Regions from separate parts of the Homo sapiens genome. Here all the other regions are linked to region 7. The links are contacts of gene promoters, found by promoter capture Hi-C in blood cells and fetal thymus (Javierre and others, 2016). All regions are on one chromosome and are shown on one strand. Each heading gives the region's core, a stretch centred on a gene start or on the middle of the fragment in contact. The rest is flanking DNA. Distances are from core to core; before and after follow the strand shown.

Region 1 (3,584 bases), core at 58-2,557, 500 kb after region 7:
CGCTGTCAAGGAATCTGCAGCCTGCAGCCCTGCCTGTTTGATGGAAAGAACAGCTTTATTCCTCTGCCATCGACCCAAACGCAGGCTTGATGAATTCGGGACTGCGTCTGTTTAAAGTGTTAGATACACAGTGAAAGGAGAAGGCGGGAGGCAAAAATGAAAAACACCAACCCCACTTCCCTGGAAGGAAATGCGTTTCCACCTCCCTCCTCCTTGCAATTAGAAAAGCAAATTATTGCTGTGACTACGCTGAGAAAGGCAACTCGGAGGCGTAGAAAATGGATTTCTGAGCCAACGTGGCCCGGCAGGGGGCTGCTAAGGGAGGGTAAAAGGGAGCAGGGGAGCCACGGCTTGGCGGGGAGACCCGCGTTACCCGGAAGGCTTCTCGGAACGTTCTACCTGTTGGGCTTCGCAGCCGAGCTGCTCACCCCCGGCCGCCGCGCTCGAGGGCGCCCCTCCCTCTCCAGAACCCAAACTTTCCCTCGCACCCCTAGGAAGCGACGAGCCTCGTCCCTCCCCCAGTCCAGATTTCGGACGTGGAACTTTGCCTGAGCCACAAGGGACCGGAGGAATGGGGTTCATTCCCACGCCGCCCGGGGGATTCCCGTTGCTCGGATCCCAGAAGTGGGGGATGCAAACGGACGGTCAGCCCAGGACCTGGCCAAAGTTTCCTCCAAAACTGCAGTGGTCAAGGCGTGACCCAGGAGCTCGGAGTTTCCAGCTCAGGGCTGGGGGCTGGAGCAGGCCCCGGGGCACCAGCCGCAAGGTCACTGCGGAGCCGGACCCCGGGGGCAAACGGCCGGCGCGTGGTGGAGGGGCAACGCTGGGCACCCGACCACTCTCCACACCTGCTCAGCTCTGCGCGGAGCCCGGGACACGTGGGAGCCCAGTCCCGGGCTCCCAGCCTGCTGCAGGGACTCGCAACCTCGCCGGGGCGTACACCCTTCGCCCCCGGCCCGGCAACCAGGAAGAGGCGGCTCGCCCGGGCGCAGAGCAGCCGGCTCCGGGTAACTCTTTCATCCTCCGACCTCGGCAGCAGCAGGGAGGGAGTTTCGTTCTCCTCAAACCAGCCCCTCACCCCCGGTTGCTTCCCACACCTCTCCGTTTCCCTGCTACCTCGCAGACAGACAGACAAGGGACACAAAGAAAAAAAGAAGAAGAAAAAAAAAAAAAAAAAAACTACCGCCCCTCCTGGTCCCATCCTCCAGCCCGGAGCCGGTAGGAAGAAGAGGGCGAAGCACACCTTCCCTTCTCCTCCCCATCCCGACGCGGTGACCCGGGTAGATCTGGGCAGCCAGGAGCTCTGGGCAGCCAGGAGCCCCGAAGAGGCCGAAGGCGGAGAGGTAGGGTTGGAAGAGGCAGAAATCAGGCGGAGCGAGCTAGAGCGCGAGAGAGAAGAAAATATCCAACAAAACCACGCTAACGCGCCCCCTACCTGGGTGCAACATACTTTGGAAATAGAAGATGACCAGGATAAAGGATCCCAAGCAAGTGGCCAGCACCATCCGGCAGATTCTGTTCATCCTCATCACTTCCAGCAGCGCTGGCTTCATGGCTTTGTCCTGGCTGCGGGGACCGGGGTGTCCGGGAAGCGCGCCCGGGGCGCAGGAGCAGGGACCCCGCCGCGCGGACCGGAGCCCGGGAGGCGCGGGGCAGAGCTGAGCAAGGCTCAGAGGGAGGATCGGAGTCGCTTCGCGGCCGCTCTCGGAGCCCCCAGCCCGGGCAGGGGTGTGGAAGGTGCCGGAGTTGGTCTGGAAGTGCTGAGATGCGTGGACCCGCTGGCTGCGCGCTCCTGCTCCTCCTCCTCGCCGCTCCGCCGCCTCCTCCGATCCCGCCGGCGGCCGCCGCTGCCTGGTCGCGGGCCGGGCGGCTGGGGTGCGAGCGGTGATGGTGGTGCCGCCGCCGCTGCCGCTGCGCTGGCCGCTGTGGCTGTCCGACGGGCCCTCTCCCTTCTCTCCAAAGGCTACTTCATTGCGCTCCAACGATCTATATATTCCGGGGCTGGGTTTTACCAAATGCAACTCGCGGCCCCCGGCGAGGGGAGGGCGCCTGCGGAGAGCCGGGAGGAGGGAGGGACCCTAGCGCCGGGGCGGAGCGTCGCGCTCCCCCCGCCCCTACCCGGGATATGGTCGCGTCCAGCTGTTGCCCGGGGAGTGCGGTGTGCGCGCCGCGCTCCCGCAGGGTCCCAAAAGCCCTCAGTCCCCGGCCGGGCTCGGCCGCCGTCTGGAGGTTGTGTCAGCGTTTCCATGACAAAACCCGGAGGAAAAAAAGACGAAGAAAATCGCCTCGGTGCTGCCACCCACCCCCGCCAGCGTTTGGAGAGGGAAGTGGCAAGCAGCGGGCTGGGTCTCGGAGGGAAGAATTAAGGGTTAGGGGGTTTCTGGTGGCTGGCAATTATTTAAAATCCCTGGGCGACGTAGCGGGGAAGTTGCCCCAAACCCCCAGGGAGCGAGTGCCCATTTTCCGACGCTCAGAACTGGGCGGTTTCGTTTTTCTTTCAAAGGACAGCCCAGCTTGGGAGTCGGGGTTAAAGAGGGCTGACTTAAAGTCAGGGTTAAGGAAACTGCACGACCCTCGGGTCAGGCGACAGCTGAGCTTTCCCGGGGACTTATACAGACAGAATCTCTGACACCCACCATCACCACCATTCCTCAAGGCAAAAGGGATCTGTGGGTTGCAAAACTCTGCTACCCCAAAGGGTAGAGCATCCTCCAAATTATTCAAAATTAACAGCAGTCTTAGCTGGGAGGGGGTGAGAAAATGCCCCTAGGAAGCCACCTCAACCAAGTCCAGAAAACTGCTGGAAAAGCCAAGCCAGCCATAGCACTGGCAGGTACATGGAAAGATGGTGCTGCTTTCTTGTATTGTGTAGAATGACTTCCAGTTTCCAATTCCATGCATTTAGGCTGTTTCACAATCAATAAAGTGGACACAGCCAATAGTGTAGGGATCACTCGTATGTCAGGGAAAAAAAAAATGTTAGTTAGACTAACCTTTGTGCCTTATCAAGTCATTACTAATTCAATTAAAAATGAAATAAGATACTGTGTCTTTCAATGCCTCTCACAAAATAGGCATTTGATAAATTCTTATTGAATCTGAATGTAATGGGCCTTATCCTCCCCTCGATAGACAGAGACACAACTTGCAGTTAGACACATGCAACAAAAACCACCTGGGCAACCTCAGTTCCCTTCCCCCAGAGTTCTCCTCCAGCAGTTGCATGGTGGGGAAAGTAACAAACTCAGCAGCCTTGCCTTTGATTACAGAAGACAATCAAAGCACAATATTTATGTAGCCGGTGTGCGCTGTATTAATTTGGACTTACCTGTGAATAAGTTGCTTGCTCAAGGAAGCCAGGCTGAACAAGCTTCAGACAGAGTCGTTCTCCAGTGATTCTTCTGCTCTGGTGATAGGAGATCAGGAATGGGAGTTGCACTGCACCCTCCCCACCTCCCCACCATCATCACTAAGAAAGGGGATTCCTTGCAGAGGGCATGGCTTAGATGGGCATTTGCACAAAGCCTTTGCCTGGAATATAAGTCTCTCATTTAACACTTGGCTTTACAGAGCCAGGGAGGGGA
Region 2 (3,236 bases), core at 245-2,744, 400 kb after region 7:
ATGGCACACTGGAGATAGTCAAGGTAAACAAAAAAGTTTTTAAGCTGATGGATGATGTGACCTAGGAAATACAAAGATGAATGAGACAAAGATCCCCAAGCTTTCTTAGGAGCATACAGCCCCTTGAGCGAGAGTGAAAAAGGCTACTATGGAAGTGATCACAACGACTGCTTTGAGTGTTTCCCTCATGCTGGACACGGTCTAAGCACAGCAGACACCATCAGCTCAACAATGGCCGAGCACAGTGGCTCACACCTGTAATCCCAGCACTTAGGGAGGCCGAGGCAGGCGGATCACTTGAGGTCAGGAGTTCGAGACCAGCCTGGCCAACAGGCAAAACCATCTCTACTGAAAATACAAAAATTAGTCAGGCTTGGTAGTGAGCGCCTGTAATCCCAGCTACTCGGGAGGCTGAGACACGAGAATCACTTGAACCCGGGGGGACGGAGGTTGAGTGAGCCAAGATCATGCCACTGCACTCCAGCCTTGGCAACAGAGCAAGACTACATCTAAAACAAACAAACAAACAAACAACAACAACAAAAAAAACCACTTCACAACAACCCTCTATGAGGTGAGTTCTGTTACTACCATACCCATTTCACAGATGGGGAAACTGAGGCACCAAAATGGTAAGCCAACACAGTGGAGAATCAAGAATGCCCCTTTAACCCATTATGTGCTTTGAGAAGGTGCCAAGAGGCAGACAAATGTCCAGTCGTCATGAATTGCCACCTCTGTTGCCTATATGAGAATTCACAAAGTCCTGTCCCTCATGCTCAGGTAGGGCCCCCAAAGACTCAGCCCTAACTCAACGTAGCTACCGGACCCTGGGCAGGCCCGGCAGGCAGGCTTTCTGGTCCTCTGTGAGATAAGGATTGGATTAATAATGCCTAAGCCCCCTTGAGCTCTAAAATCTTGCAACTAAACCAGGATACGATCACCTTTCGTTGGATAATGATTTTGATATCATTGAGAAATGGGTGCTGAATTCTAAACACACTAAACCAACCAATTTGCCAACAGGACAAAGTGCAGTCACTTTAGCCTGAGGAGACTTTTGAGTTTTGCTCTGGGCCAGGGAAGGTTCTGGAAGGCTCAAGCAAAGGCTCTGACCACTATTACGGGCTCTGCGCTTTTTCCTACCAGAGTAACTCAGGTGCAGGGGGAAGATGGCCTCATCTTCTCTGTGTTTACAGAGCTGCAGGTGACCCTCAAAGGCAGTAGGAAGTCTAAATCCCTTCGAAATGGTAATTCCCAAATCATATCTGTCCACCTAGAGCTGGTTTTCCTAACCCTGCCCACTTGACCTCTGTGGGACCTAAGCCCTCTCCTACCAGCATGAGCAGGCTCCTCCGTGGTGACCCGTATTTCTGCGAATCAATTCCATTTCGGGTGGATGACAGTGCTGCTAGGAACAACACCAACCAGAGCACTAGTGTCCCCTCCATGTCAGTGGCATTTCTGGAAACGAGGCCCAGCCAGGAAGGTGGGGGCAGAAAAACTAGATATATCCAGAGCAGAAACACCAGATTGGAACCAGGAGACTGGGCAGTAGGAGCTATTGAGGGTATGAGCTCTGGAGTCCAGCATTCCCAAGTTCCAATCCCTCCTCTGACTTCCCTAAGCCTCAGTCTCCCTAATCCCAGCTACTCCGGAGGCTGAGGCAGGAGAATCGCTTGAATCCGGGAGGCAGAGGTTGCAGTGAGCCGAGATCACACCACTGCACTCCAGCCTGGCGACTGAGTGAGACTCTGTCTCAAAAAAAAAAAAAAAATGGACCTAATAATGGGACCTACGCAGTAAGACCGTTGTGAGGATTAACCAGAAATAGCACCTATGAAACCCTTAGCGCAGTGGCTGGCACCAAGCAAGCATTCAATGACAATAATAATACAGAAGATACAGGGCGTTGTTTTCCATTAGACTCCAGCAGAATCAAATCATTTCCAATTCAAGCTGTGGGTGAGCCCTGAATCATTCCACTTCAAAATTCAGAATTATCTTTTATTTTGCTGTGGCAGAGACTTCACTTGTTCCCCAAAACCTGGTCTTGCCTTCTTTCATAGTGTTAGAAACTGAGTCAGGCACGCTGGTACCTAGAATAAAGACCAGCTAAAAACCCCTTTGAACAAGAAGTACACCACATGGCCCAGTTCTGGCCAATGGGATTATGAAGACACCCTTTGTCACTGTTCCCCCTTTCCCTGCAAGGGATAAGAATGTAGTGGAGAGCCATCCTGGGCTACATGGATAAGGTCAACCCTCAGTGTGGGGGCAGAACAACAAGATGGGAGGGGTCTGGGCTTCTGATGCCATGGCGTCGCCACATCAGGCCATGTCAGGACTGTTTAGTGAGAGATGAACTCCCATCTTCTGAAAGCCATTGCTATCTGGTTGCCATGGAATAGCAGCCAGTCCTATAACCTAATACACTCATGTTTCTTCATCTGACACTCACAAATAGCACATGAGTTTGGTAAAATTATCTTACTCATCTCGCAGATGGGAAAAAGTACCATAAGGAAGTTAAGTGACTAGTCTAAGCCAAGCCCCTCTAAGTCACTGAGCTAGAATTTCAGCTCCAATTTGAGCACTCTTCTCCCAGGTTATGTGACACTTCTGTTGCAGACTCTGTCCCCGGAAGACATGGCTGACCACAGCAATGTCACAGCAGAATTCGATTCACAGCAAATCCAGTGAGCACCTTGGCATTCTGCTAATTCCAAGAGACCCAGAATGCGTGAAATGCAGCCCCCATACTCAAGGAGCTCACAGTCTAATAGAAGGGTTTATAATGGAGGATGTAGCAGCAACAGTTTGCAAAGGGTTTTCAGATTCACTATGGAAAAGCAGAACAAGGACATCACCTGCAGAAACTAAGCTTGTAGAGGTTAAATGACAAATCCAAGACCACTCCATAAGTGGAGGAACTGGAACTAGAAACCTTATCTTTCAAATTCAAGTCTTGTGCCTTTTCTGCTGCCCAATTATAAAGTACCATAAAGTACTAATGCTGCCTGCTGAGGTATGACCGTCTCTTCCCACCCCTATCTCAAGATGCTTCCCGGTGCTGATCCATGTTTTTGAGTTTGAATAGCACACATCAAATTCACCCCATCAAAGACTGAATTCCTAGAAGGTACCATGAACCCCCCCATGGCTCAACCAAACCTTCCCACTCCTCTGCCATGTTGAATTCTTAGATTAACTACAAAGCAGTGCCTCTCTATCTA
Region 3 (3,409 bases), core at 36-2,535, 460 kb after region 7:
ATTAGGGCCCATCCTAATGACCTCATAATCATTTATTTGTCTCTCTTAAGACCCCATATCCACATGTAGTGACATTTTGAGGTACTGGGGGTTAGGTCTTCAACATATGAACTTTAGGGGAACAAAATTAAGCCTGCAGCAAACAAAAATGACAATATCTGTCCTTTGAGGTATAGCACCTGTTAAGTGAACGTCTTATGACAGAAACCAGGGGCTTGATATCCAGGAGAGGTCCCAGGAGGCAGGTATTCTCATCCACAAGTCAGAGGTGAGAGTAGCAAGTACCACACTGTTGCAAGAGGGGCTAAATTATCCACAATCATAACTGCAGAGGTAGGCCTGAGCCCATGAGGGAGTCAAGCAGGCCCCTCTTCCCCACCTCCAGTGGAAAGTTTTTCTGGATGGCAAATTCTTGTGGATTTCTCAGTTCCACGATCCTCAAAACACACCATACATAAAACATCCTACAAACTCTCTAGGATTTTGTTGCAGGAAACAACATCTCATATTTTCTTTGTCTTGTTTAAAAAAAAAAAAAGTTTTGAGGATTAGTCTATGACTTGAGCTCTTGACAGAGACTTCATTTCATAGCACCAAAATAAGAAAAATGTTCACAAAACATATCAAAGAGTGAAGAGAGGCCCTGCAGACTTAATTGGCCCTGTTAGAATGGCCCTGTGCCATTATTTACTGATAGGATTACCAGATGTGAGTGTGGAATTGGTCCCCCAACTTAAAATAACATAACGGATTTTTTTCTAATGTAATTTGAAGCATTTGTTAATACAATAATCCAACACAAACATTACAGCTGATTTGGGGAATTGTGGCCAGCAGTCACTTCAACAGTGCCTAAAGGCCTCTGGCCCATTATTAGGTCTAGTCAAAAAACAAAATTAAATATGATAAAGATTAACAAAAATTAAACCAACTGTGTCACATTGATTTTTTATTTGACAGGCATTATAGCACATGTATGGCTTTCCAGAAAATCTGGTGGCTCTAAGAGTGAACCTTCTAATGCAACAATAACTCATCAACACACCTTCCTCCCCACTGCCACACACACACACAGATTTGGAATAGAAACCAAACTCAAAGTGGAATAGTGTCAAGAAAAAAATGTTGTGCCTCTCTCCTCACATTTTCTATTATTCATTTAACAAGGGAATTCAAACCAAAAAAGTACAGAGTATTTTACAAGCCCAGGGCTTAGGAGACTAGGCCACTATTTCTAAAGCCCTCGCTTAAGTCTGCTATCCGAGGCATCAGTGATGACTGAGGCATGGGCCTTATTCCAAGTTTTCATTCCTGGGCACTTCAAGGAACTCCATTCAGGAGTCAGGATGTCATTATCTTCTATAACTTTCTTGATATGGGTCAGCTGAAGATGTGAATTTTAAAGAGCATAGTCAATTAGGAAAAGAAAGCCAGAGAACACCCTAGTAGCCAGACGGTTGGGTTCAAATCCAGGCACAGGCTTCAGTTCGTTGTGTGACCTTGTATGAGTTCCTTACATTCTCCAAGCCTCAATTTCCTCATCTATAAAATGGGTAAAAATGGAACCTCTTCCTCACAGAGATGTAATGAGAATTAAGTCATGCAAGATGCTTAGAACACTTAATAAGCACTCAATAAATAGTAGTTATCAATTTTTATTAGTACTAATTTATGTATTGGTTACCTGAAGTATAAATAATAAAACTACACTGTTTAACCATAATAAGATATTCCTTTACACCTACTAGGACTGTGACTATCAAAAAAAAATAAAATTAGAAAGTAACAAGTGTTGGCAAGGATGTGGGGAAACTGGAACCCTTGTGTACTGTTGGTAGGAATATAAAATGGCACGACCACTGTGGAAAAGAGTGTGGTGGGCCCTCAAAAAATTTAAAATAGAATTACCACAAAACCTGGCAATCCCACTTCTTTCAATTCTTTCAAAAGAATTGAAAGCAGGATTCCGGAGAGATATTTACACACCTATGTTCACAGCAGCAGTATCCACAACAGCCAAGACACAGGAACAACCCAGATGCCCATCAACTGAAGAACAGATAAACAAAATGTGGTGTACACATACAATGAATTATTCAGCCTTAAAAAGGAAGGAATCCTGTCACATGCTACAACATGGACGAACTCTGAGGACATTAAGCTAAGCAAAATAACCCAGTCCCAAAAACAGAAATACTGTATGACTCCACGCATCTGAAGTGTCTCAAGTTATCAAACTCATAGAAACAGAAAGTAGAACGGTGGTTACTGGAAGCTCAGGGGGTCTGAGAAAATGGGGAGTTGTTGTTTGCTTAGTGGGTACAGCATGTCAGTTTCGCAAAACAAAAAAGTTCTGGAGATCTGTTGCACAACAGTATGAATATACTTACCACTGCTGACCCGTACTCTTAAAAAGGATTAAAATGGTAAAGTTTACATTGTGCTTTTTTAACCACAATTTTACATTTTTAAAATTATTTTTAAAAATCTACCCACAAAACAAAACACCCTGAATTGTTTAAGTGTTTTACAAAATGAACTCTAGATGCCTCCGAGTCAATCAGTGAGCCCGCACCCCACCCCACAGTTATTATTCTGAATTCGTGGTGACTTACAGAGCTAATACGCCTACGACATTGTTCTGAGAAGCGCTGGAACCCATCCTCGGCAGTCAGCTGCTAGCAAGAGGATCAAGATCAGAGAAGTTTTGTGAAGTTAACTTTAAAAGGAATATTCTGACTTAGAACGGATTCTATTTTAATGCTTTGAGACAAAAATCCTTCCCCTGGGAAACTGCCTCCAACTCACTTGTCACATCCTCAGAAGTGGAGACCCTGTTTTTCATTTCTGAGATGTTATCACTGAGACATTCAAATAAGAGCAGTGTTGAAGAACAGTGACATGTGATGTGGTGGCTTTAAGGCAGTGACGGGCTATAGACACTAAGAGGCCAAGGCCAGAGGGGTCAGCTCACAAGCTCACAAGCTCCTGCCTTTGCTTCGTGGTGCAGGCTCTGTCTCTCATCGGCACGGCATCTCTTCAGAGGGGATCTCCTTGGAGATTTGGGGAAATCAGCTCAATTTTGTCACCCAGCCTGTAGTCCCAAGTCCTCGTGACTGTGGATGGGCCAGGAATGTGGCTTCACATACAGACATCTTGTTAGGCCAGGCACGGTGGCTCACACTATAATCCCAACACTTTGGGAGGCCAAGGCAGAAGGCTTGCTTGAGCCCGGAAATTCAAGACCAGCCTGGACAATACAGTGAGATCTCAAAAGATTACCCAGGCATGGTGGTGTGTGTGTTTAGTCCCAGCTACTTGGGAGGCTGGGGTGGGAAGATCACTTGAGCCCAAGAGATGGAGGCTGCAGTGAGCCAAGATGGTGCCACTGCACTTCAGCCTGGGTGAC
Region 4 (3,406 bases), core at 18-2,517, 360 kb after region 7:
TGAGCCTCCGTTGACTTGTCACTTTGAGCCACGTGGAAACTCTGAAAGTCAATCATCAATGCCCAGAAACAAGATGCCATGTTTTCTCTTTCCTTTTCCTTGACTTCCTAGGGCAGGGGTCAGCAAAATTTTCTGTAAGGGGCCAAACAGTATTTAGGCTTTGCACCCTGCAGTCTCTGTCATAACTCTTCCGCAGGGCCACTGTGGTGTGAAATCCTCCCCAAACGATACAGAAATGAATGGGTGTGGCTGGGTGCCAACAAAACTTCACTGATGAACAGGGAAATCTGGGAAAATGTCATCTAATTTTCATGTGTCAGAAAATATTATTCTTCTTTTGAGTTTTTTCCACCAATGAACAAAAATGGGCAGTGGGCCAGATTTGGCCCTTGGGCTAGAGTTTGCCAACCCTTGCCCTAGAGAACTGCCCCAGGTCTTCTCGGGGTCAGTAGTACAAGCTCCAAACATAGCTACATGCCCACAGTCTTCCCTGGGGAGGAGGGAATCGCAGGCAAATGTCAATACATTAAAGCCATTAGAATTTGATCAGGCTGTACAGAGAAACACTGGTTCTTTGTTCCTCCAGTTGCCCCAAGAAGACGGAAAAAAATTCTATGTTGTGTTTTTCTTTAATTTATGACTTCATTTTTCATTTCCACCAAAAAGGAGGTAAACTGTGAAATGCACGCAAGTTGCCCTTGGTGCACAATGACATAGCAACACTTCGGAGAAGTAAAAACAGCCATAAAACTCGTAAAATTATGCCCATGCCGGGCAAGATTAAATTCTCCCTATGGCGGCAGACGGGCTCATCGAGGCCCATGGCTCCGGGACCGCGCGGTGAAAAGCCTACCATGGAATCCATTAAAAGTCTGCTTTTATGGGGGGCAGTATTATTTAATTGGTTTATTTGTCTAATACAAGGCCTTTAAAATGCTTTGACCGTGTGGGGCCTGAACCTTGGGTTCTTTGCCCACAGCCATCAGCCCTGCCCGTGACTTCACTGGGTGCCATGGGAACCGGCCTTGGCTCCCCAGACCACAAAAGCTAAAGGGGCCTTGTGTGCCTTTTATGGGAATGATAACAACCCCACCGTTTCTGGAGTGCTCGCTATGCAACAGGCAGTCGGTGCAGTGTGATCCTTCCCACGGTAAAGGAAGTACCTGCATTTTACAGATAACCCCTCCGCGCCTCCCTTAGCTGCAGGCACTTGGCCATGGTCAAGGTCATGTGAGTGGAAAGGAGCCAAGCTGAGCCTCGAGACTGACAGGTGCTGCCCAACCTGTGAGGTGAGGGTCACCTCCCAACTCAGCTAGGCCAGCTGGCCACGAGGATACAGACCACTGAGTCAAGGCCCACCCCACCCACCAGGGTGGGAGGCTTGGGCCAGCACTTTATCTCTCCCCAAGAGGAAAGAAGGAGCCAGACGACTCAGGAGGGGCCCAGTGATCTGTGGAAGGATGAGAAGGAGAGTCAAGAAAAGATAAAGTTCCCCAAATCCTCCGTGTCATGTTCCAAAAACTAGAGTTTCTCAACGTGTGCCCTACTCACTTTCCCCATGATATTGCTTGTTAAAAAAGCAGATTTCTGGGCACATTCTTGGGCTTCATCCCAGAGTTGTTGAATCAGAAGGAGGGGGAGATGGAAGTTAAGGCCCAGGAATCTGCATTTTAATAAGACTTCCCCACCATGGGGAAGAGAGACACAAATTATACTCTTTATGCTTTCTGATTCTTGAGCATCCAATTACAGAATAAACAATTTCCACACAACCTGGCTCCATCTACCTCAGAAGACACTGTAGCATCTACAATAAGAGCTGTAGAACATCTCCTACTGCTGATGCTGTGCGAAGGTTCGGACCCTCCCTAGAAGCTGAGCTCCACTGTACCCTCTCAGGTTTAGACCACTGGGGGCTTTTGGTTTCCAGGGGCCACAAATGACTTCTGGGCTAGTCATATGTAAATGGTAACAATGAGGACCTACTCTGTTGCCTGGGATGCAAAGGAAGGACCAGCAATTATGCACATGAGTATATTCACCTCACATGTATCTTACAAGTGGCATTAGGGAAGTTTGAGTAACCAAGGCCCAGATGGTGGCAGCTAACTTTTAGAGGGCACCAATGCTTCGCCAAGCAGTTCACATATTTAATCCCCACAACAGTCCCATGGTGCGGGTACTACTACCATTCTCACTTTACTGATGAGAATACTGAGGCATGGCAGGGTTAGGTAACTTGCCCAGGTCTCATGACTAGAAAGAGGTGGAGACAGAATTCTGCCTTAGACAGCCCATGGTCTCAGCTGCCACACTGGGTCACCTCTTCACTGACAGGTAAGTCAAACATCTCCCTAGTCTCCTCCTGGCCTGAGACCTGGTTGGCTGGCCACTTCCAGGACAAGTCCAAAATACAACAGGATTCATCAAAATGCTGTGATGGCAAACTATTAATTAATGGTTTCATTACACTCATTCATTCGACAAGTTTTTATCAAGCACCTACGATGTGCAGGGCAACTCGCCAGGCACTGGGTTTGGGGATAGAGCCTCTCTCTAACCTATTCATTTGTTGCTGTGGTGCTTGGCACGTAGTAGGTACTCAAAAGGTTTATGAATGATAGAAGATTTAACACTTCCTTTAAGAGCATCAGAGAGGTTTGGTTCTTGCTATATAAGGAGAAAACTGCCAGTAGCATTAGGCTATGGTTATTTTTTTTTCCTTTGAAAAATGAAAGGTCTGATGATCAAAAGCCCCGCAAAAGAAATCCCTGAGGCCCTGAGGACATTTAACGGCAGGCTTCTGCTGTCCACCCCGCCCACTGGGAGTTTTATTTAGCCACAACACTTGTTTTCTCCTCTCTAAACTCAAATCAATGGGATTAAAGATTTTTTTTTAAAGAATCTAATTAGCTCAATTTACAGTATGATTTCTTGGACCCAGGAACAGTTCTATATCTCCCACGATACATAAATGAAGCTAAAATTAAACTCAAGCCGCTCGTGTTTGTTTCATTGTAATGAAGAGCACGTTGTTTTCAAGTGGACACTCCATTCCCAGTCTGCTAACTGAGAGCAGCCCACGGAGAGCTGGCTCAGGACAAAGGAATGAAGCCCACCTGGTTCTCTGGGCGACTCCCTGTGACCCCTCTCAGTGCTGCTGGAATGCAGGGGAGATGCTGGATTGTTAATTCAGGTCTGAAGACATAGAACTGAAATACTGTGGGACCCTGAGTAGGAACTTGCCTCTCACGCATGTCCTAAAACCAAAGACATTCAGAATTCCAAGGGATTCGAGTATAGGCCAATCCCCTCGATTTACAGAAGAAACTCGGAGACCTTACATGCTTGCCTGAACTGCCCAGTGTAGCTAGCAGCAGAACCAGGGACGGAAGTCATATCTCAC
Region 5 (3,735 bases), core at 1,036-3,535, 380 kb after region 7:
AAAATCAGGCAAGTTCTAAACAAAGAGTTGGAATTTCCCCAACAAAAACCAAACAATTATCTATCTGCAGCCACTGATGTGAATATTTTTACTCAAGGGATCTTTGGACGGGGTGCGGTGGCTCACGCCTGTAATCCCAGCACTTTGGGAGGCCGAGGAGGGCGGATCACTTGAGGTCGGGAGTTTGGGACCAGCCCGGTTAACATGGTGAAACCCCATCTCTACTAAAAATACAAAAATTAGCTGGGTGTGGTGGCAGGTGCCTGTAATCCCAGCTACTCAGAAGGCTGAGGCAGGAGACTTGCTTGAACCCAGGAGGCAGAGGTTGCAGTGAGCTGAGATCTCGCCACTACACTCCAGCCTGGGCGACAGAGTGAGACTCCATCCTCAAAAAAAAGAGAGAGATCTTTGAAAACTGAGAGCACAAGGCATTTGTTTAATTTCTGCATATTTTAGGAATATAGGATGCTTAAGTATAACTTAAGTTGCTGCCATCAAGAAGTGCTGAAGGGGTAAGGGAGATAAAAGCAGGTGTCAGAATCGATCTGAAAATGAATAGGGGAGGCCCCAGACAGGGGCAGAGGGTGCACACGTGAGCTTTGGGGGAGGCTAGGCTGTGTGTCAAGTGTGGTTGTTGAAATATGGTCAGAGGGAAAAGGCCATTGGAGCTGCATCTGATGAAACACGCCCACGGTCCCCCAATCTCCCTCACTCCCTGCTTCCCTTCTTGTGAATCCAAGATGCAAAGCTGAGCCCCATTCCATAGACCCTCCAAAGATATGGAATGGGATCAGAATGATCCCAAGGAGGGGAAAAAGAATCAAAGCCACTGTAGTGGTTTCTCCCCAGGGAAATCCAGGGAAACACTCACAATTTTAAGGAGGGTTTCATCTTAAAGTAAAGATAAAAAAGTGTTATGACAAAATGGAGAGACAAGGTCCCATCTTTATCCAGAAAGTAAGAAAACCATGTACAAGATTTCTGTTGCCTTGATAAGCAGGAAGGCATGGCCCCAGTATACAACACATATGTATGTGGCCGCACTTAGATATTAAAATTCCCTCCAAGTTGGCCAGGCAGGTCTATTTGTGCAGGCAAATTAAAAAGCTGTAAGACAATAAGGTGTCTGCAAATGGTTACAGCTACAAGAGGATATGAAGCTATTTGCATGTCTGTCTCTAGGGGAAGCAGCCAGATGTGTTAGAAACAGTTCCAGTTCAGAGCTTGCGGCCACCTGTGAGCTGGGTGACTTGGGGAGAAGGAAAACAGGTACAAGCAGAAGACATTTGGAGTTCCGGCTCTATACAATGCTGAATGCCAGGCAGGCACTTCAGTGGAAGTCATTTTATATAACCCTCCCTTCCTCACTACCATCCCGAGATGTATTATTTCTATCATACAGATGAGGAAACAAGTGCAGAGAGGTTCTTGCCAACGGTACACAGTTAATAAATGACAGATCCTCTAGGATGATACAGCAGGGAAATGTTTATTATCTCTGAGTGTTCCCAACAGTGATTGGCCCCATGAGAAGGGCGTGCAGAGGGGACGTGAAATGCACAGAAAGAACTTAAACTCCAGTTGCATCCCTTAGTAAAGATAATAACATGAAAACAGGGGCCTGGGGTTTAAGTAACTCAGTAAAGGTGATGGGGCAGGGGCAACATATCTGTCTGACACATCTGGTCAAAATGCTGACATCAAAGTCTTCAAGCACAAACACACGCACACACACATGACTACCCCAACGCTGATTTCATTGCTCAGGAGCAGAGCACTGTAGCCAAGGGTAGGCTCTAAGGGTGTTAGAATTCCTGCCTCAAATCCTGGCCCCTCCACTGGCCAGCAGAGTGATCTTCTGCAAGCTTCTTAACCCCCTGCATCTCAGTTTGCTCACCAATAAGATGGAAATAATGAGAGAACCTGCCTGATAAAGTTATTAAGAGGAGGACATGAGCGGAAAGCACTGAGTGCATTGGCTGCCACAACTCTCAGGCGCACATTTCCATATTTCAATTTCTCGCAAATAAGGATGCATCCTACAACCATAGTCTTCTTAGACTGGATGAAATAAGGATAGAATGATGATGCTGACGATAATGACGTAGTGCATCCCTTACTTCCTTTCCACCTCCCTCCGTCCCATCCCCATCCCCATCTCAAAGCCCAAACTCCTGGATGGAGTGTTTGTTCTCAACTTCTCTTCCTTTTTCTTTTAGTTTGCTACAAGTTGAATGCTTTGTTTTCCAAGCCAAGACAAATCTCCTCAAATTCAAATGGCAAAGTGCCACAGCATCAAAATGCCCTGTGCCTTCTGAGGCTTGCTAAGATGCAGGGAGGCAGCTCCAGGGTAACAGGCCCTTTGAGACCACCTGTGCCCGAGCCACTCCTCACACAGCCAAGGTCACTGCCCTGGATGTCATGAACAGCTGGGGAAGTCTCTGTCAGGTTAGACAGAGGTAGTGGGTCTTCAGCAGTACCCAGAAAGACCCTCCCCACCCTCCTGCCCACCAAATAACTGCCTCAGCCCTCACTGAGGCCAGAAATCCCAGGCAGTGTTCCTTTAAATCAACGGTTTCCAGTCACTCGACAATGTTTGGCCACTACATCAAATCATAACCAGCTTTCTCAAAGTCTGAAAAACTACAAGAAGTTGTGGTTCAAATAAATAAATAGGGATAAATTTTCCTCAATTATCAAGCTTTCTCCCATAAAACTTTGTTAAACAGTTGACACAGCTGTGCTTGAATCATAAACACAGATATACATATATAAACATAGATAGTACTAATATCTCAACAAATATTAGTATGTCATGAAGACTTCCAGATATCTGCCACCTGGCCAAGCTTGAGGTTGTTCCCCCAGCAGAAGCTAATGCAAGTCAACACCCTGAAGCTAATGAAGGCCAACACCCTTGGGATCAGAGTCCAAAGTCCTCAAGGATAAGGATGCAAGAAGCATCCATTTATCAGAGGTTCTACTCAGAAAAGGCTGATGGGAGAAGTAGCTCCTGCATGTCCAAGGTCAGGAGTTCAGGGACAGAAATCAGGACAGAACAGGAGGGCCAGAAAAACACCAGAAAAGGCAGAAAAGGCACTCAGATTTTTGCCTTTCACTTTGTCCTGATCTCAATAAACATCAATATTCAAGGCTTCACTTGCTTTTCACGATGAGTGTATTGGAACTGAAAGTTCTGAGACAATTATAAGAAATATGAAAACCCAGGCTAGGTGCAGTGGCTCATGCTTTTAATCCCAGCACTTTGGGAAGCCAAGGCAGGAGGATTGCTTGAGGCCAGGAGTTCAAGACCAGCCTGGACTTGAAACCCCGTCTCTACAAAAAAAGAAAACAAGAAATATGAAAATTCCCCTTCCTTCCAACTGAAGTATGGAGCCTCAGAAGACTGAGCACCCATTTCTTGACAAAATCCTCCTGGCCCAGCTATATCCTAGAAGTAAATTACAACAAGTAGAGAGAAAAAATTGGGCTCCCAAACTTCCAGGAAGCTTTGCATGGGGCACAATCCTAGCTGTTATAGAGGTTGAAAGTTAAGTTACATATTTTTCTACCATTCTCTGATTGTGTCTGACATACTGAATATTCATTTATTTTGCCTTTAATTTATCCATAATCGACATGTCTACCATGCATGAGGGCTTAAAGCTCCACTGAAATAAATTACATCCCATGGTATTTAGAAACAGGCAGCCTAACATCTAATCTAATTGACCT
Region 6 (3,569 bases), core at 1,009-3,508, 310 kb after region 7:
CAGAATAAGCACTCAGGGATTATCTGTGGAATGAATGATTGAGTAAATGAATGGATGAATGAATAAGTAGTATTTATCAGACACTTTAGGCTCTGATGATTCAGCGCTGAGCCTGGCACATTGGTCCTGGTCTTCACTGAGCTTAGAGTCTGGGACGGGAGAGGGGTGCAAAGGAAATAATAAGTTATTTTGTCTTTTTGAGACGGAGTCTTGCTCTGTCGCCAGGTTGGAGTGCAGTGGCGCAATCTCGGCTCACTGCAACCTCTGTAGTCAACTAGCTGGGACTACAGGCACGTGCCACCATGCCCAGCTATTTTTTGTATTTTTAGTAGAGGTGAGGTTTCACCGTGTTGGCCAGGATGGTCTTGATCTCTTGACCTCGTGATCCACCCACCTCGGCCTCCCAAAGTGCTGGGATTACAGGGGTGAGCCACTGCACCCGGCCAGAAATAATGGTTTAATCACCACTACGATGAAGGTGAACTCCAGGGTTCCATGAGAAATCAGTTTAGGGAGGTTAGGGAAAGGTACCCTGAGAAAGCAACATTTAAGACAAGGTCTGAAGACTAAGTAGGTGTTGGCCAAGTGAAGTGGAGGTGAGAGGAGGAACACTGCCAGCAAAGGCCACCAAGAGGTTGCAGCAAGAGAGAAAAGGAGGAGGAGAAAGTGGGGTGGAAGCGAGGCATGGAAGGAGGGCAGACTAACGGGATGCGGGGAGTGGATCTCGCAGGGCCCTGGAAAGTGGAATAGAGGATATGAAATGCAACTTCTCCCCTGTAGGGGAAGCCAGCATGGGAGCCATTACCTGGGTCCATTCACCAGGGAGGCACTGGCTGAGCCGGCAGCATCCTGCATGCGGGACTCAGAAAGAAATCAGGGGAGGGGCTAGTGTGAGCAAAGCGCTGGAGAGTATGGTGCCATCACCAAGGTCCCCAAAGAACATGTTTGCTGAAGCCACCATGATGACGAGCTTGATCATGACAGGCAGAGCTGGTGAGGGTGGAAGAAGAGATGATGGCCCCACTGGGAGCCACACCCTAATTTGTAGGTAGATGGATACCCTTTAGGATAAAGAGTGGTGCTCTGTCAACTCATCTTATTTGGTGCTGTTGTTTTTTCTTGTTTGAGGTTTGTTTATCCTTTCATTTCCTAGTTTAATTTCCTTTTAATAAAGCTCTAATCTTGTCTTGGCTCACCTAATGGGAAAAGGGATTAGTCCACAGCTAAGCCAAGGGGAGGGTGGGGGGGAAGGACTTGGAGCCCTTGGAGGCCAGGACCAGCAGGGGAAGGTGAGTGGGTGGGAAGGGCCCCCCAGAGCCCAGGCAGACAAACAGCAAACTCAGAAGGGGCCAAAATAAAGACAACTGCGGTGCCCACCCCCACCTGCAGGTTGCTTTTCCAACAAGCCCAGCTGGGCTTCCAACACAAATATTTCTTGCAAAGCAGAATAGGAGGCCTGAGCTCCAGTCCTGGCCCAGCCCCCTGGCTCTCTGTTGGGTCAGTTCTTTAACTTCCTGAGCCTCAGTTTCCTCACCTGTATGGTGGGGATGAGAATCACAGATTCCACCTCAGAGGATTATTGCCAAGTACCTGGCTCAGAGTGGGTGCCCTCCAACCATGGGAACTATTATTATTAATTTAAAAGTGGAAGGCCGGGCGTGGTGGCTCACGCCTGTAATCCCAGCACTTTGGGAGGCCGAGGTGGGCAGATCACGAGGTCAGGAGATCGAGACCATCCTGGCTAACATGGTGAAACCCCGTCTCTACTAAAAATACAAAAAATTAGCCGGGCGTGGTGGCGGGTGCCTGTAGTCCCAGCTACTTGGGAGGCTGAGGCAGGAGAATGGCGTGAATCTGGGAGGAAGAGCTTGCAGTGAGCCATCATGCCACTGTACTCCAGCCTGGATGACAGTGCAAGACTCTGTCTCAAAAAACAAAACAAAACAAAAAAAGTGGAAGAAGGCTCGCTGCAGTGATCTGTCCTCAGGTTTCATGCAGATAAGCCATGGGCCTGTTCCAGCACAGGGCTGGTCTCTACAGCAAATCCTACCAGCTCTGCTCCTGCACTATCTTCCAGACTGAAGCCTCTAAGGGGTCTCATCCCAACCCTACTTTCAAGGGACAGATCTGAGATGGAGGTCCAGCCAGTCTTCCCCTACCTACACTGGTCAGTCTGCCACCGGGCTCTGAGACAGAACCACCCCAGCTGCACTCTGCCTGCCAGGGCCAGGGCCAGGACTCAGCCAGAGACTCCAAACCTGACCCTCTTCATCGCCTCCCCAGTGCTGCTTCAAGGATTTGAAAACCAGAAGCAGGAAAGCTCCCCTAGAAAGAGGGCATGCTGGCTTGGCAGGATGCCCAGGCAGCACCACGCCAGCTGCAGGGAGCCCAGGTGTGTCTTTTTGGCAGATGCAAGCAGGGCCACTCTGCCTTTGAAGAAAGAGGATTGGCCACACGTTAGACACTGAAGGCAGGAAACAGAATCTGGCCTCAGTGAGGGCTGGAACCAAGGAGAAACCACTTACAAGATGGCTGAGGAAAGACATCAGTAGGGAGGCCACCGAGTGGAATCATAAGCGGTGGAGAGTCAAAAGGCAACCTGAGACGAAATGCAGCAAGTGCATGCGGGAGTCCACCCAGATGCAGGGAAGGTAGGGGGTGTCCAGGAGCTTCCATGGACAGATATCCAGGAGGTGCACGCTGGGAGGGTGGCTGCGGCAGAGATTTCCCAGCAGCCTCTGAGCAGCAATAAGCACAGTGAGGAGGAAGCAGAAGTCCCTCTCTTCAGAGGAAGCAGTTCTCCATCCCGTGAGCCAATCCACAACTGGCCGGACAGCTCCTTGCAGAAACCGTCCAAGAAAAGCAGTCTCCACTAGCAGATAGCAAAGGCAGAGAGACCTAAGAGGTTCCTTTGTTTGCTAACTGCACCCCTAAACTCCAGAGGAAATAAGAAAATTCAAATTGCTTCCTCTTGGTACCAGAGGAATCAGGTTTGACAAGTCTCTTTATGAGATGACAGCTGAGAAATGTTCTAGAGAGGTCCCTTCTTACCCTGGGTTAAAACAGTGAAGTCTTGGCTTTCCAGGAGCTGGAAAACACGCTCATGAGACCCAGACCAGATTCTCAGGCACAACTGATGTTTCCATCCCTGATCTAGAATAAGCCATTCCAGGCAAAGGAATTTTCCAGATAGGAAAAACTCCTCAAGTGCAACAACAAAAAAAAGTCATGAGAACTTTGTGTGTGTGTGTGTGTGTGTGAAGAAAAAGTCTCTGAATGTCCTCTTAAGTTCCTCAAATGGAAATCCCCTAAATGTGCTGGAGTTCTTGAAAAGAGCATATTGGAAGAAATCTGTTACTGATAATCCCACACAAACACGCTACCCACTACAGTGGCACACTGCCCCTACCATGGTACAGAGGGAAAGACTTGGACTTTGAAAACACAGGGTAGAACCCCATCTCTGCATCTGACGTATCTAACCCTCCAAACTTCTGCTTCCTCATCTCTAAAATGGGTGGTGAGGAGCAACAACAAGGTTTGCGGTTTTTTGTTTTGCTTTGTTTTAA
Region 7 (3,689 bases), core at 53-2,552:
GGATGAGTCATTATAAAAAGCATGACTGCAGATGGCCAAGAGTGATACCGAAGCACCCTTCACCCTGAAGGTTAAGGTTAAAGCTCAAAGTCTGATCGCAAAGCATAAGGAAAAAAAAAAAGAACATGGATAAATGTATGCTGGTGTCCTTCAGCACCAGAAAAGCTGCTACTAAATCACTGGTGTGGCTTGGAATTGGTAGAAGCTTTGATTTGAGGAAAAGAGTATCATTAGCTGTGTAATTTTGAGTTGTTGTTTTAGAGACAAGGTCTCATTTTGTGGCCCAGACTGGAGTGCAGTGATGCGATCATAGCCCGCTGCAGCCTTGAACTCCTGGGCTCAGGCGATCCTCCCACCTCAGTCTCCTAGCCACTCCAGGTCTCGCTGTGTTTGCCCAGGCTGGTCTCAAATTCCTGGCCTCAAGCGATCCTCTCGCCTGGTCCTCCCGAAGTGTTGAGGTTACACGCATGAGCCACCAATCCTGGCATTATGGCATTAGCTGTGTAATTTTTAAAATAACTGTCTTCGGACCAACACCTTTCTTTTGTTCACTGGAGTATCCCTGGGGTGTGTCTCATTCCCTGAATCATACACAGTAGATGCTCAATAGTTTTGTAAATAAAATAAATGAGCTCTCGGATTTACATGCAGACTTTGGATCAGTTTGATCTAGGTTTAAAAGCAAGTGTGGGGAAACTTGAAAAGCCTGGCACCCCAGCCAACTCTTCAGCGCCCCATGCGCTTGGCGCCTACACCTGCCTGGCACGGGGAGGGTGCTATGGGGCTGCCCTAAACCTCACCCCCTCCTGCGGTGGTTCCTGCCCGTCTCGGCTCCTGCACCGCCCACACTATGCGCTGCTGGGCCGAAAGACACGTGGTTCGGTTTTAACTCCAGTCTGCAAGAAACATGACCTCAGCCAAAAAGAGGCCGCTGGTCTGAGAAGAGAAATCATGAGTCATGGATTCGGGGGTTCGGACCTTGGAGCAGGCGGTGAAGTGGGCGTGCGTGGGCTGGTGGGGAAGAGGGATGCCGAAGGAGGCCACAGCCCTTCTCTCCTGGGCAGGCTCCCCAGAAAACTGCCCCCTTGCCGTCATCCAGCGCCCCCGTTCCCGACAGCTGTCTGCCAGGGCGCGGCCGGGGTCCGGGCGGGGCGGTGCTGTCGCTCCGGGTCGCCGCCCCGCGGGCCACATCACCAAGGCCCGGGCTTCCCCGGCGGCGGCGCGGCTGCGCTTGCGCGGGGCTGCCGCGCGGGGGCGGGGCGGCGGGGAGTCAGGGGGCCGCGGGCGCCGACGGCCGGGCTGTCAGCTTGGGGCCGCAGCCGCGCGAGGAGGCGCGGGAGCAGGAAGGAGCTGTGGGCTGGGAGCCGCTGTCCTCCCCGCCACCACCGGTGCCGGGCACCAGGTGAATGCCCCTTCCATCCCCCGCCCCTGGTGTCTCGGTCTGGTCTGAGGAGACGGGGACCCTTCTCACACCGGCCGCTGCCGCCGCCGCGCTCCGGAACAGGTGACCATGGAGGGGAAGTCTCGGCTTCGGCCGCGGCGCCGCGTTCGGGCGCATCAGGTGCGGGAGGGAGGTGGGGCCGAGAGGCCTGGGCTCGGGACCCGGCGGCGGGGGCGCGGGGAGCAGAGGGAGCGGCCCCGCCCGAGCAGCCGTGCCCCCTGCGGACGCCTCTCCGGGCCGCCGGGCAGCGCCCGAGCCCAGGCCCCCGCGCCTGCCCCACCTCGGGCTGAGGGAAGCTGTTCCGCGGCCACCGCGGACAAGCGGTCCCGGGCGCCCAAGGCAGGGACAGGCGGCGGGTGGTGTATGAGTGATGGCTGAAGGTGAGCTGGGATGGAGATGCTGCGAGGCTGGCTCGGGCACACCCCAGATGCCTGTTCAGGGCTCCGCGAGTGCCCCGTCACCCTTTTCTTTCATTCTTCTCTTTATATACACGGAGCATATCTCAAATTTAAAAGCCCAAATGCTCATTTACAGAGAGAGATGACACATATCTATGTGTTACCGATATACATTGATGTGTATATTACGTATATATGTCATCTTTTTTTTGTAGTGACAATTTTTAAATTGAGATATACATCACATGCCATAAAACTCATTCTTCTAAAGTGTGGCTTTTAATATATTCACAGAGTTTTCCAAATATGACCACTATCCAGATCATCATCCCCAAAAGAAACCCTGTCTCTCTTAGTAATCACTCCTCATTTCCCCTTGACCCCACCCCACTAGCCACCACTAATCTACTTTCTGTTTATATGGGTTTGCCTGTTGTGGAAATCTCATATAAATGGAAGCGTACAATATGTGGCTTTTTGTGTCTGGCGTCGAAAGACATACTGTAATGTTTTCAAGTTTCACTCATGTAGTATGTATCAGTACTTTACTTTTTATAGCATATTAATATTGTTGTATCAGTGTACCACATTTGTTTATTCATCAGTTGATGTACATTTGGGTTGTTTCCAGTTTTTGGCCATTGTGTGTAATGCTGCTATGCACATTTGTTTACACGTTTTTGTGGACATGTGTTTTCAGTGCTCTTGGGTATATACCTAGGAGGGCAATTGCTCCGTGTTTCACTTTTTGAGGAACTGCCAAGCAAAGCAGCTGTACCATTTTACTTTCCCACTAAGCAGTGTATGAGGGTTCCGATTTCTTCACATCTTCCCCAAGGCTTGTTACTTTTTTACTGGTTATTTTTTATGATAGCCATCGTAGTGAGTGTGGAATGGTATCTCTTTGTGGTTTTGATTTGCATTTCTCTAATGATTGGGGATGCTGAGCATCTTTTCATGTGCTTATTGGCCATTCATATATTTTCTTTGGAGAAAATGTTCATATCTTTTACCCATATTTTAATTGGGTTGCTTGGCTTTTTATTTTTATTTATTTATTTATTTATTTATTTGGAGACTGACTCTCAGTCTGTCACCCAGGCTGGAGTGCAGTGGCACAATCTTGGCTCACTGCAACCTCCACCTCCGGGGTTCAAGCGATTCTCCTGCCTCAGCCTCCCAAGTAGCTGGGACTACAGGCACACACCACTATGCCCGGCTAATTTTTGTATTTTTAGTAGAGACGTGGTTTCACCATGTTGGCCAGGTTGGTCTCCAACTCCTGAATTCAAGTGATCTGCCCACCTCGGCTTCCCAAAGTGCTGGGATTACAGGCATAAGCCACCACGGCCAGTCTGGGTTGCTTAGCTTTTTATTGAGTTTTATTGTTCATTTATGGAAAAAAATTTCTGTTAATAGGTTTGGATACTGGCACTGACTTGAAAAAATCCAACCAATCTGATACCGAAAAACTTAATGCTTATTCTTGGGTAAAGGTTGAATAAGTGCCACTTCATTCTTTAAGAATACCCTACCTGTTCATTCTGGACATCTTACTGACCCCTTTACATTTACTGCCCTGGTATTTTGAGCAAAGCTACAGAAGGCATATTCCTGACTGGAGTCAAGAGAGACCACCCTTAATTGGTATTTTCATATATTCTATGCTCAATTTGAAAATCCCAGTTATCACTTTAATTACAAAAAATTTATATTAGTGGCCAGCTGAACAAACTAACAATAAATGGCAAGCACAAATCACTCAAAAATTTATGTTTAACTTCTCAGTAAAGTGGAGAATCTTGTTTTCTTAAGTTTGTGCAGTGTAGTTTTTATTACAATTATGTTCA

The links. The method cuts DNA at HindIII sites, captures the fragments that hold promoters and counts their contacts. A CHiCAGO score of 5 or more calls a contact.
Region 1: a contact is called between a fragment that was not itself captured here and the fragment with the promoter of SLC41A2 in region 7, in 11 of 17 cell types (naive CD8 T cells, total CD4 T cells, naive CD4 T cells and 8 more). The highest score is 8.3, in naive CD8 T cells.
Region 2: a fragment that was not itself captured here is called in contact with the fragment with the promoter of SLC41A2 in region 7 in 2 of 17 cell types (monocytes and naive B cells); the score reaches 6.3 in monocytes.
Region 3: a fragment that was not itself captured here is called in contact with the fragment with the promoter of SLC41A2 in region 7 in 1 of 17 cell types (monocytes); the score reaches 5.5 in monocytes.
Region 4: a fragment that was not itself captured here is called in contact with the fragment with the promoter of SLC41A2 in region 7 in 1 of 17 cell types (total B cells); the score reaches 5.0 in total B cells.
Region 5: a contact is called between a fragment that was not itself captured here and the fragment with the promoter of SLC41A2 in region 7, in 2 of 17 cell types (naive B cells and total B cells). The highest score is 7.0, in naive B cells.
Region 6: a fragment that was not itself captured here is called in contact with the fragment with the promoter of SLC41A2 in region 7 in 2 of 17 cell types (naive B cells and total B cells); the score reaches 6.6 in naive B cells.

The regions. Positions count from the first base shown.
Region 1 is chr12:104,455,381-104,458,964 of GRCh38, reverse strand. It overlaps CHST11 (carbohydrate sulfotransferase 11), which reads right to left and starts at 2,017. Exons shown (of 3, transcript NM_018413.6): 1 at 1,436-2,017. The coding sequence starts at 1,553. RefSeq lists silencers at 479-538, 699-838, 1,429-1,708, 1,749-1,918, 1,999-2,128 and enhancers at 1,229-1,278, 2,199-2,278, 2,299-2,348. The HindIII fragment of the contact is 4,131 bases long and covers 1-3,372 here.
Region 2 is chr12:104,560,335-104,563,570 of GRCh38, reverse strand. The region is part of intron 1 of CHST11 (carbohydrate sulfotransferase 11); the gene reads right to left. Among named protein-coding and RNA genes, the nearest start is that of MIR3922, 30 kb to the left of the region's middle. The HindIII fragment of the contact is 2,784 bases long and covers 103-2,886 here.
Region 3 is chr12:104,493,860-104,497,268 of GRCh38, reverse strand. All of the region lies in intron 1 of CHST11 (carbohydrate sulfotransferase 11), which reads right to left. Among named protein-coding and RNA genes, the nearest start is that of CHST11, 39 kb to the right of the region's middle. RefSeq lists an enhancer at 2,992-3,181. The HindIII fragment of the contact is 4,726 bases long and covers 1-3,409 here.
Region 4 is chr12:104,596,793-104,600,198 of GRCh38, reverse strand. The region is part of intron 1 of CHST11 (carbohydrate sulfotransferase 11); the gene reads right to left. Among named protein-coding and RNA genes, the nearest start is that of MIR3922, 6.9 kb to the right of the region's middle. The HindIII fragment of the contact is 6,125 bases long and covers 1-3,406 here.
Region 5 is chr12:104,580,384-104,584,118 of GRCh38, reverse strand. The region is part of intron 1 of CHST11 (carbohydrate sulfotransferase 11); the gene reads right to left. Among named protein-coding and RNA genes, the nearest start is that of MIR3922, 9.4 kb to the left of the region's middle. RefSeq lists enhancers at 281-350, 1,177-1,226. The HindIII fragment of the contact is 836 bases long and covers 1,868-2,703 here.
Region 6 is chr12:104,643,328-104,646,896 of GRCh38, reverse strand. All of the region lies in intron 2 of CHST11 (carbohydrate sulfotransferase 11), which reads right to left. Among named protein-coding and RNA genes, the nearest start is that of MIR3922, 53 kb to the right of the region's middle. RefSeq lists an enhancer at 2,684-2,733. The HindIII fragment of the contact is 9,948 bases long and covers 1-3,569 here.
Region 7 is chr12:104,955,903-104,959,591 of GRCh38, reverse strand. It overlaps SLC41A2 (solute carrier family 41 member 2), which reads left to right and starts at 1,302. Exons shown (of 11, transcript NM_001352171.3): 1 at 1,302-1,504. RefSeq lists silencers at 1,124-1,393, 1,584-1,913. The HindIII fragment of the contact is 5,296 bases long and covers 208-3,689 here.